3 separate regions of the Homo sapiens genome follow, and regions 2 and 3 are each linked to region 1. Evidence: promoter capture Hi-C in 16 types of primary human blood cells and fetal thymus (Javierre and others, 2016). All regions are on one chromosome and are shown on one strand. Each heading gives the region's core, a stretch centred on a gene start or on the middle of the fragment in contact. The rest is flanking DNA. Distances are from core to core; before and after follow the strand shown. Region 1 holds the start of CAD (carbamoyl-phosphate synthetase 2, aspartate transcarbamylase, and dihydroorotase). Region 2 overlaps MAPRE3 (microtubule associated protein RP/EB family member 3). Region 3 overlaps TMEM214 (transmembrane protein 214).

What was found. The method cuts DNA at HindIII sites, captures the fragments that hold promoters and counts their contacts. A CHiCAGO score of 5 or more calls a contact.
Region 2: a contact is called between a fragment that was not itself captured here and the fragment with the promoter of CAD in region 1, in 1 of 17 cell types (total B cells). The highest score is 5.5, in total B cells.
Region 3: a fragment that was not itself captured here is called in contact with the fragment with the promoter of CAD in region 1 in 2 of 17 cell types (total B cells and naive CD8 T cells); the score reaches 5.7 in total B cells.

The regions. Positions count from the first base shown.
Region 1 is chr2:27,215,774-27,219,449 of GRCh38, forward strand. CAD (carbamoyl-phosphate synthetase 2, aspartate transcarbamylase, and dihydroorotase) reads left to right here and starts at 1,596. Exons shown (of 44, transcript NM_004341.5): 1 at 1,596-1,860; 2 at 2,104-2,243. The coding sequence starts at 1,779. It overlaps ATRAID (all-trans retinoic acid induced differentiation factor), which reads left to right. Exons shown (of 7, transcript NM_001170795.4): 6 at 750-847; 7 at 1,071-1,384. The coding sequence ends at 1,175. RefSeq lists a silencer at 1,468-1,697. The HindIII fragment of the contact is 10,576 bases long and covers 1-3,676 here.
Region 2 is chr2:26,972,327-26,976,002 of GRCh38, forward strand. The region is part of intron 1 of MAPRE3 (microtubule associated protein RP/EB family member 3); the gene reads left to right. Among named protein-coding and RNA genes, the nearest start is that of MAPRE3, 3.5 kb to the left of the region's middle. The HindIII fragment of the contact is 5,007 bases long and covers 1-3,676 here.
Region 3 is chr2:27,034,666-27,038,341 of GRCh38, forward strand. It overlaps TMEM214 (transmembrane protein 214), which reads left to right. Exons shown (of 17, transcript NM_017727.5): 3 at 470-620; 4 at 929-1,063; 5 at 1,305-1,387; 6 at 1,822-1,927; 7 at 2,040-2,121; 8 at 2,412-2,513; 9 at 2,896-3,037; 10 at 3,481-3,572. Among named protein-coding and RNA genes, the nearest start is that of TMEM214, 3.5 kb to the left of the region's middle. The HindIII fragment of the contact is 4,998 bases long and covers 1-3,676 here.

The sequences.
Region 1 (3,676 bases), core at 346-2,845:
ACTTCTGGGAATTGTCTTTTCTCCCTTGTATTTTCCACTTTAGATCAGAAAGACAAAGTTGCTTAAGCGCCTTTCATTCAGAGTTCTGGGGCTATAACCCCTTTGAAAGAAAAGATCTTAAGATATACTCTATTATTTGTCTCACGTGTGTCCGTGTAAAGAGACCACCAAACAGGCTTTGTGTGAGCAACAAGGCTGTTTATTTCACCTGGGTGCAGGTGGGCTGAGTCCAAAAAGAGAGTCAGCAAAGGGTGGTGGGATTATCATTAGTTCTTACAGGTTTTGGGGTAGGCAGTGGAGTTAGGAGTGCTGTTTTGCGGGCAGGGGATGGATCTTACAAAGTACATTCTCAAGGGTGGGGAGAATTACAAAGAACCTTCTTAAGCGTGGGAGAGATTACAAGGAAACTTCTTAAGGGTAAGGGAGATTACAAAGTATATTGATCAGTTAGGGTGGGGCAGAAACAAATCACAATGGTGGAATGTCATCAGTTAAGGCTATTTTCATTTCTTTTGTGGATCTTCAGTTGCTTCAGACCATCTGGATGTATACGTGCAGGTCACAGGGGATATGATAGCTTAGCTTGGGCTCAGAGGCCTGACATTATTGTTACTGTTTTTATCTGTAATTTTCTTTCTTCTTCCTTTATCCTAGCAATGATTGAGAGAATCTAAGTTGAAACAGATAATTGAGAAATATGCCTAATGAAATGGATAAAGTGATGTTCTCTATTTCTCTCTGGCCTCCAGAAATGTGTCCTGAGAATGGATCTTGTGTACCTGATGGTCCAGGTCTTTTGCAGTGTGTTTGTGCTGATGGTTTCCATGGATACAAGTGTATGCGCCAGGTGAGGAATTAGGCCGTCTAACTAGGGATACAAGGAATGCATAGAGCAAGTCTTCTCAGAAAGGAGAGCCACAAGACCAGGAGCTGATACAAATTTCCTATAGGTGGAAAACTATAGAATTGCCCTAGACAAAGTGATAGGTATATTAGGAAAGAACTAGGTGTTAGGATGTGGCCCTCCGTGTAACGTTGTATGGGGGTGTTTTTTGGTCTGTTGTTCACAGGGCTCGTTCTCACTGCTTATGTTCTTCGGGATTCTGGGAGCCACCACTCTATCCGTCTCCATTCTGCTTTGGGCGACCCAGCGCCGAAAAGCCAAGACTTCATGAACTACATAGGTCTTACCATTGACCTAAGATCAATCTGAACTATCTTAGCCCAGTCAGGGAGCTCTGCTTCCTAGAAAGGCATCTTTCGCCAGTGGATTCGCCTCAAGGTTGAGGCCGCCATTGGAAGATGAAAAATTGCACTCCCTTGGTGTAGACAAATACCAGTTCCCATTGGTGTTGTTGCCTATAATAAACACTTTTTTCTTTTTTTTTCCTCTCTTTCTTTTTAAGGAAAGGCGCCCTGCCTTTACGTGTTTCTTGCTTGGGGTGGGAGGGACTGCTTTAGGGCAGCCGGTTTTTTCAGGTTTCCCCCGGTTTTGCAGTGCGGAGACCACGGGGGCCCACTCCCCGTGGCTCCGCGGACCCCGCCCCTTACGTGCCCGGCCCCGCCCCTCACGCCGCCTGTGTCCGCGCCGCCGCAGTCTCTGCTGCTGCCGCCAAGCGCGCCCGAGGCTCCTACGCTGCCGCGCCCGGCTTCTCTCCAGCGCCCCGCGCCGTTAGCCACGTGGACCGACTCCGGCGCGCCGTCCTCACGTGGTTCCAGTGGAGTTTGCAGTCCTTCCCGCTTCTCCGTACTCGCCCCCGCCTCTGAGCTCCCTTCCCATGGCGGCCCTAGTGTTGGAGGACGGGTCGGTCCTGCGGGGCCAGCCCTTTGGGGCCGCCGTGTCGACTGCCGGGGAAGTGGGTAAGCAAGCCCGGTTAGGCTGCAGACCTTATCCCACTCTGTGATGCGCCTCTCCTCCCAACCTTCCCCGTCCAGACCCCGCCATTTTCCCGCCAGCGTACCCCCTTCCCCCATTCGGTGCCCATGGGCCCCAGCGCCATAAACCCCTCGCGACCAAGGCAGCCTCCACTGGGGCGTGCTCATCGCGCGGGGAGTGTTCCGAAGGGTGCCCTACCGGAGCCCAGCCCTGCTTCTTTCTTGCAGTGTTTCAAACCGGCATGGTCGGCTACCCCGAGGCCCTCACTGATCCCTCCTACAAGGCACAGATCTTAGTGCTCACCTATCCTCTGATCGGCAACTATGGCATCCCCCCAGATGAAATGGATGAGTTCGGTCTCTGCAAGGTAGCCACACCCAGTGCTTTCTCTACATTCCTTTTCAAGTCAGTAATTGTTAACTATTAGTGAAGTAGGAGACGTTGACACCCTGCTGGGCATCCTGCAGAAAACATACCCACTGAAGTAGTAAAGTCAAGGACTAAGATCACTAGTAACTGTAGTTAGGGGTTGTTAAGTGCCTTGGGAGGCACAGAGTGTTGGAGGCCTCAGGAAAAAGCTACCGCCTTTGTTAAGGGCATCAAGGCTCCAGGTATAGCTGAAAGCATTCTGTATGTAGTGAAGGCATGGATCAAGGAAAAGTAAAAGAGGTGTAAGGGAACAGCCTTGTCCAACTTGTTAGGCATGCAGAAGTCAGGAGAAAAAAGCCTGCAGATAAGTTAAATCCGGTGGGCATGGAGGGACCTGAAGCCAAAGCAGAGTCAGCTTAGTTTGGTAAAGGATCCATTGAAGGTTTTTTTTTAGCAGCAGAGTCAGATGGGAGCAGTGCTTTTTAGGACTACATAAATTAGTGGAAAGAGACTGGAAACTAGGGTCACATACTTCTCTGTGACAGTGAGTGCCAGTTTACCTACAAAACCAGTGACATTATCTTCTAGACCTACTGACATGGCCTCGTCTGATTCTCTGCTTTTCAGTTGTGTTCTTACCTCTAGGTGAGAAAACTGAGTTTCTTCCTACAGTGAGGTTTCCCCTATTCCTTCACCTCTGAAATTTGGAAACTAAGTTGCCCTCTGACAGTTCAAGCATTAAAAAAAACCCAACATATAGTAATTAAGGTAATAGAGGAAGTCAATCTGGCCTAGAGTAGTATCTCTCAAAATTTGTTTGGCCTCACTGCAGGTGTAAGCCTTTAATTCTTAATTTGCCTTCCCAGCCACCCTGACGCTGGGGAGAGTGAGCTCCGGATAAAGGACGTACATGTTGTTCTTCCTGGAAAAGAATTTCTAGGTTCATCACAAACCTACAAATACACTGCATTCTAGTTGATAGTGAATTCTTGTGAATTTGGTTAACCTTTGTCAGTCATCACCTTTGTCAACTCTAGACACACTGACTAAATTGAGTTTATAAAACTACAAAATTGAGGCCTGATTAGGATCAGGGTGGGAAAGGCCTCTTGGAGCCACTCGCACATATAAATGGATTACTCCACCTGGCCAGGGAGGGTTCTGCCAAACTATCCTTCAGATCCCTGGACAGTCTCAGAATGCAGGTTCCTTAAACTGTTCATCACCCAGCTGAATGCAGTTTAAATATGCTGATCCCTCCCACATAAACTTTCTGTTTCTATGTAGCTATTAAACGCTTATCTATTGAGTAACAAGTTTATGGTTTTTGTTTTTTTTTTGGGGACAAGGTCTCACTTTGTCACCCAGGCTGGAGTGCAGTGGCATAATCATGGCTCACTTGCAGCCTCTGCCACCTGAGCTCAAGTAGTC
Region 2 (3,676 bases), core at 753-3,252, 240 kb before region 1:
CTTTACTTTGCTCAATCATGGCCTATTGGCAGCCTCCTCATAGCCACTCCCTGCCCCCATGCCCATCAGATTAGTTTACAGTAGCCAAGACGGCTGTCGCCCTAGTTTTAAACATAGAGATGAAGTTCAGGAAAACTATAGCCCCCATCCAGCAGGGCAGTTTCTTCTGTTTCGAATGCCAGACTGGGGTTTGGTGGGATGCACCTGCCTGTGGTGCAGTGGGAACTGTGGGGCCTGAGAGTGGCATTCCTTCTGTGTGGTCCTGTGTCACATAGCTCACCAAAATACCCGAGCAGGGCAGGAGCAGACAGCTGTACTGGAGAGCTGCTCCTCCTGGGCTGAGTGTATTTTGGGAATCAGCGATATTACTGGGGTGGAGGGTTGTGAATTAAGGAGGAAGAAAATGTGTCAAGGCTAGATAGATCAGGAGGGTGTAAGTAAAATGTTCCTTTCCAGTTTGCTATGGGATAGTACATTTTCAGAGGATCAGAGTAGTTTTTATATGGATTAATTTGCCTTTGAAATCCATACCAGTGTTTTATGAGATAATGATGGAATGCCTTTTAAACTGCTACTATGAGGAAACAGGACTAATACTTGTCTTATACATTGCCTATCCAGCTGTTGCTGAATGTAATTGTTAAGATCAAGGAGAGGGACATGATTTGAACCAAGTTAGACCTAAATCTATGTAATGGTATTGAGGTTTTGTAGGACTGTATTCTTGATTCTAAGACACACCAGCAATTTACCAATAGCTTTTAGGTAAAATAATCTAATGCTACCAGATCAAAATATATATGCTGATTCCAAGGTGCATCCTCATTTTAGAAACATTAAAACCCTCGGGAAATGGCAAGACTTGAGGGAGGGATTTGTGAATCTTGGAACTGAGAAAGAATGCTATTGATAGTATTCCTGTGTGATGATGCCGTTTCTGACCTACCGTCCTGAGAGTGCATGCATTGTGAAGCTGAGTTTCTTCTAGTCCTTCCTGCACGCCAGCACACATTGTGGGGTTGTATTTGTAAGATGACTGGCTGGAGTTAGGCATAGTAGGAGGCTATTGAACGGAGGAAAGTTCCCATATGAGAATCCAACCCAGGGTCTTAATGTGGTACTCTCCAGAAACTGAGCCAACTAACTGGCAGCAAACGTCTTATGAGCTATTCCTGAATTTAGCCGAGTAACATTTGTCAGAAGCCGAACAGAAAATATAGTTTTTTTTTTTTTTTTTTTGAGACGGAGTCTCGCTCTGTCGCCCAGGCCGGACTGCGGACTGCAGTGGCGCAATCTCGGCTCACTGCAAGCTCCGCTTCCCGGGGTTCACGCCATTCTCCTGCCTCAGCCTCCCGAGTAGCTGGGACTACAGGCGCCCGCCACCGCGCCCGGCTAATTTTTTGTATTTTTAGTAGAGACGGGGTTTCACCTTGTTAGCCAGGATGGTCTCCATCTCCTGACCTCATGATCCACCCGCCTCGGCCTCCCAAAGTGCTGGGACTACAGGCGTGAGCCACCGCGCCTGGCCAGAAAATATAGTTTTTTAAAACAGAATGCATCTGCCCTGATTTGCTTACAGATACATTTGTAAAGGTCCCAAGGCACATGTCTCCCTCGCTTAGGATGTTAGCACTGGAGGTGACCCCAGATGGTATAGTTTAATGCCCTCATTTCTAAAGTTGACACAAGACACCAAGAGTTAAATGACTTACCTAAGGTCACCCAACCCATGCAGAACGTATGTAAAAACACTTTGTAAACTGTGTACACTAGGCAGATGAATGTTGGTGGTTATTAGTGGCTGAGTCAGGATTAGATCTCCAGATTTCCAGACTAGAGTTATTCTTCAACACCACATTGCCTCATCCCTCATAATGTTCCAAAGGGTTTTAATAAAAATAATTTAGTAGTCCGTAATTAGCCCTGTAGGCAAGGGCTTGTTTTGTCATCTGAGATGCTGCACAGCCAGGCAAAATTTTGTGTCAAACTGTCTAACTAAATATTTATTCTTGCCACTTTAAAAATAATATTTTTTATCACACATTCTGACTTCAGGAAGGTCTTTCTTTTTTTAATTTGCATCAACTAACAGAAAAGCAAATGTGAAGTTGGGTATTTGAAGTCTTTTCTACTTCTTATCTGTGAGACTGCCGCATTCCAGAAAGCAAGGTGGAGAGGCAGATGGGGCTGAGAGGAGGAGCGTGCACATTGGGCAGCTGCGGGCTTATCTTCCACCTCTCAGAATGGAACCTTTTGTAGTTTCTGGGAGCCATAAGGACTTCTAAACCCTCTCCTTGGGAAGCGCGGAGGCAGCCTGACCTCTGGAAGCAGGCAGACTTGAGTTCAGATCCCCATCCAGCCATCTCCTGGCTGTGTGGCCTTGGGTGAGTTATGTTACCTCTGAATGCCAGTTTCCTCATTTATAACCCTGGAATAATAACTATCTGTTTTACAGGGTTGTTGTGAAGATTAAATGAAAGGGAGTATGTAGAGTGCTTGCTTCATAAGAAATAGCAATGATTATTTTATATTGACTAAAGCATAAAATAGCAAATAATGGTTTCAAAATTGTTTCGTGATTTAGGTCCATCTTGGACTCTCAGTTTTGTAGCCCCCATCTCTCAGCACCCCTCTCGGTATTTGACACGAACAGAGAAAAGGTTTGTACCGGGAAGACCCGGCACTTGCATTATTATTTCAACTGCCAAAACCGGAGTATATGAAATGTATCTTTGCTCCATGTATTCAGCCAACCTGAAAGACTGGCAGGACAGGAGCATTTGACTTTAGGAGGCACAGATGTGGTGTGCTTGGGTGTGTGGTGGGGGTGGCTAGTTCTCCAGCAGGGAGGCCAGTCTGGGGAGTGGTCTTCATTTGAAATAGAAAAGCTGCTGAGCTCTTGCTTGTGAGGGACACACATGTGGTCTTTATTGACTTCCTCAACTGGTAGAGGCATAGATTTCATCGGTGACTTTGCTAAAATCAGCTTCTGCATCCGTGAGATCCAGGGGGCAAGGGAAAGGAGCTATTCATCTTAAGAGGGAAACCTTGCCAGTGAGCAGAGGTAAAGGGAGGTCATTTTGGATGGAGAGAATTACAGACTGGCTCAAGGCAGAAACTACTGAGTAATTAAAGAACCAGGGCAAGCTGTTCAGGTGCAAGAGCAAAAGTGAATTTAAATTCCTAGATAAATTTCAGTAGGGAAGGAAATACCCATGTATAGACATCTAAAGATTGAAAAGAAACGCAATAATGTTTACCTCTGGGAGGTGGGATTTGGGTGTGGGGAAGGGAAAAGGAGACTCAAAGGGGAACTTTTACTTTATATGTTTTTGTATTTGACTTGTTATAAGAAGCATGTATGCTTTAGTCATTTAATGAAGACCAAATAGAATGGGTAGTGATTGTTGTTCAGTAAATACATTTTGGTACAAAAGAAGCAGCTGCCTTTACTTGGAGCCTCCCATGCCTGGGGCAAATAGGGTTTGACAGCTTCAAGCAGGCCCAGGCAGTTTGCACCAAATCAAGCTCTTAAGTGAGGGCAGGACCCTCCAAAGTGGCTGCTTCCCGGTCAGCCCAGGGTACTTAACTGACCACCTACCCCATCAACTCTTCCTAGTCTTTTCACTCCCCTCTTGAGAATAGTCCCCTCCATCTGTTGACCAGCTAAAATAAT
Region 3 (3,676 bases), core at 325-2,824, 180 kb before region 1:
GATCTCAGCTCACTGCAACCTCTGTCTCCTGCCTCAGCCTCCCAAGCAGCTGGGATTACAGGCGTCTGCCACCACGCCTGGCTAATTTTTGTATTTTTAGTAGAGATGGGGTTTCACTACGTTGGCCAGGCTGGTCTTGAACTCCTGACCTCAGGTGATCCGCCCACCTTGGCCTCCCAAAGTGCTGGGATTACAGGCGTGAGCCACCGCGCCTGGCCCTCTGTTTTCCTCTTGAACATGTGGAGGGCCTGAGAGGATAGGGCCTGAGATCAGCATTTTCAGCTGTCCTGTTCCATTCTTAAAGATGTAGGTACAGCAGAATTGCAGCATTCCATGTTCTTATGCTTAAAAATGGAATCCCTTCTTCCTACTGCCACCTAGTTCAACCATTTTCCCACCCCTACCCCATTTCTTTACTCCCTCACTCACAACTCGCCATGGTGGGGGGTTGGGGGATTGTCCCTGGCAGCTGGATGTGGCAGACCTGCAGAAGGAACTGGACAAGAGCCAGAGTGTGTTCTCTGGAAACCCATCCATATGGTTGAAGGACCTGGCCAGCTATCTCAACTACAAGCTACAAGCTCCTCTAAGTGAACCCACGCTGAGCCAGCATACTCATGGTAAGTCCTTCCAGCTTCCTCAAGCTCAGACAAGTTCAAATAAATTCAAAAAGGGTGGTATAACAGATCCCAGTGCCCCACACTGTCCTGATTTCCATGGGTGATTTGGGCTGGTCTCAAATCATCGTGACTGTGAATGTTTCTGGGCCTCATTCTGTGATCCTCCCTCTGGGCCTCCTCAGAGGAAGGATCCCAGCCTCAGTGCAGGGGCCTTTGCCTCCACTCACCATTCCCAGGGAGAGCACCACAGTTCTCAGAGCTGATGGGTGTCTGGTCCTAGCACTCACATTGAGGCCTATGGGCCTTAGATTATCCCTACAGCCTGGTGAGCCGGGAGCTACGTGGGATCATCCGAGGGCTGCTGGCGAAGGCAGCAGGGTCTCTGGAGCTCTTTTTTGACCACTGTCTGTTCACCATGTTGCAAGAGCTGGATAAGACACCAGGTGAAAGGGGCACGGGAGGGATGACCATCTTGGGAGCCTCCTCCTTTTTTTCCTGCTTCCAGTACCACTCAGTGGTTCTGTTTCCAGCAGAGAAATGTGCTAACCTTAACACTTTTTGGAAAGTGTGGAGGAAGTTAGGAGTCAGTGGACCTGGGGCCTGGGCTCACCGCTGACAAATGGGAGATTTCAGGTTTGGGATGCCAAATAATGTGAGTAGGTGTGAGAATGTGTATCTCTCCAGGGGAGTCACTACATGGTTACCGCATCTGTATCCAGGCCATCCTGCAAGACAAGCCCAAGATTGCCACGGCAAACCTAGGCAAGGTGAGCTCTCAGTGATGGTGGGGATGCTAGGAAGCTAGGACTGGGGAGGCTGGGCAGAATCTATGTTGTTGGACTCAGGTTTGGGATAGTGGAAGACCTGTAAGCCTAGTAATAATGGGTAACACTATTAGCACCTATCCTGTGTGTGTGCTCTGGAAACATAGGAGCAAGGTACTGCTATTATTTCCCATTTTTATAGATGAAAAGATTGAGCCACAGAGGAGTTCAGTAACTTTCCTAGGCTCAGTCATCCAGTAAATGGCAGAGTATGGGCGAAGCCCACAAACAGAACCTGCACCACGTGGCCATAGTGCTCCACTCTTGCTCGGCCTGTCCTCCCTCTTCCAGTTGACATCTCCCTTCCCTCCTGGCTTTGGGGGGTGCTCCTGGTGTTTTGTCCTATCCCAATCTGCCTTCCCCACCGGTCTCCTCAGTTCCTGGAACTGCTGAGGTCCCACCAGAGCCGACCAGCAAAGTGTCTCACCATCATGTGGGCCCTGGGTCAAGCAGGTTTTGCCAACCTCACCGAGGGACTGAAAGGTAACAGGGAAATAGGGAAGAAAGAGGGAGGGTCTCGGAGCTGGAAAACTCCTCTTTGATGCCCCCAGTAGGTGCAAGCCTGAGGCCTCCCTCGTGACTTTTACCCCTGCAGTGTGGCTGGGGATCATGCTGCCTGTGCTGGGCATCAAGTCTCTGTCTCCCTTTGCCATCACATACCTGGATCGGCTGCTCCTGTGAGTAATGGGAGGGCAGCAAGGGGAAGGCTCAGGGTGTCCCAAGTGGCTGTTATAGCAAAATGGGAGGCTATGATCTTGGTCTCCATGGATATGAGGAAAATCAGGACCAGCTTCTCCCACCACCTTAGAATGTGATGGTGAGGAAGGAAGAAGAGGGAGCTATTAAGGGCTGGCAGATGGGGTAGAGTTTATACCCTTTTTCCTAGATGTTGGCTTAGCTGGGGTCATGGCCAAAACAGCTGGCATGGGTGGTGGTGTCCAGCGAGCCTGTTTCTTCATCCCCACAGGATGCATCCCAACCTTACCAAGGGCTTCGGCATGATTGGCCCCAAGGACTTCTTCCCACTTCTGGACTTTGCCTATATGCCGAACAACTCCCTGACACCCAGGTAGGACTGCTCTGGGGCACACCTGCTGAGAAGGGACCACAGCACCAGAACCACACTACATATTCCCGTCTCTCCTTCCCCAGCCATCCTAGATCTGAGATTTGCAACCTGGAAGTTCAAGAGTAGGTTTCAAGGGAACAGTGACCCCTTGAAATTATATGGACCCTTGAGTGTGATTGGCATATGGGCATTTTCTTAGGGATAGGGTCCATGGCTTTCAACAGATTTCCAAGGAGTCTCTGAGTAAAAAGATTCAGAGCCATTGCAAGGTCCTCAGTGGCTATTCCCCACAGGCAGGCATGGGCTCTGAAGCAAGCAAAAGGTTCATATCATACAGCTCCACTTATAGCTTATGCCTGTCTTTCCTCCCCACCCCACCCAGCCTGCAGGAGCAGCTGTGTCAGCTCTACCCCCGACTGAAAGTGCTGGCATTTGGAGCAAAGCCGGATTCCACCCTGCATACCTACTTCCCTTCTTTCCTGTCCAGAGCCACCCCTAGCTGTCCCCCTGAGATGAAGAAAGAGGTGAGGATATGGTGGGAGGCTTTTTCTCCTTCCCCAGGGGTCAGCTGTAGCGGTCCCTATCTGCTGACAAAGGCCTTGCCTTCACAGAGCCCATTCTGAGGCTTTTCCTTAGCTCCCTGTTGACAGCTGCCTGCCCCGCTCACTCGAGCTTCACCCTCAGAAGATGGATCCCAAGAGACAGCACATTCAGGTCTGGGTGGTTTCTGATGCCCGTCTCTTGCAGATAGTGATCTTTGAGCTCAAAGCTCTAGCTCAGGAGCCCCAGCCTCCTGCTTTACAGCCTCTCAGAGAGCTTTCTGGAGTCTTGACACTGTTTCTCCACCCCTTAGGGTGGATGTGCGGCCTGGATGGCCTTGCTTACGGGAAGGGGATCACCTCTTAGCACTCCCCGCCTCTGCCAGCCCCATGCCCCCAGCAGCCTCTCCCTCTGTCGTGCTGTGCAGCTCCTGAGCAGCCTGACTGAGTGCCTGACGGTGGACCCCCTCAGTGCCAGCGTCTGGAGGCAGCTGTACCCTAAGCACCTGTCACAGTCCAGGCAGGTGGGGTGGGAGGCCAGCCTGTCCCTGTGCTAGAAGCAGAAGGGGAGCCTGGGTCACTGTCCCATGGCCTGACACCTTTCAGGCTGAGTGGGAACATTGC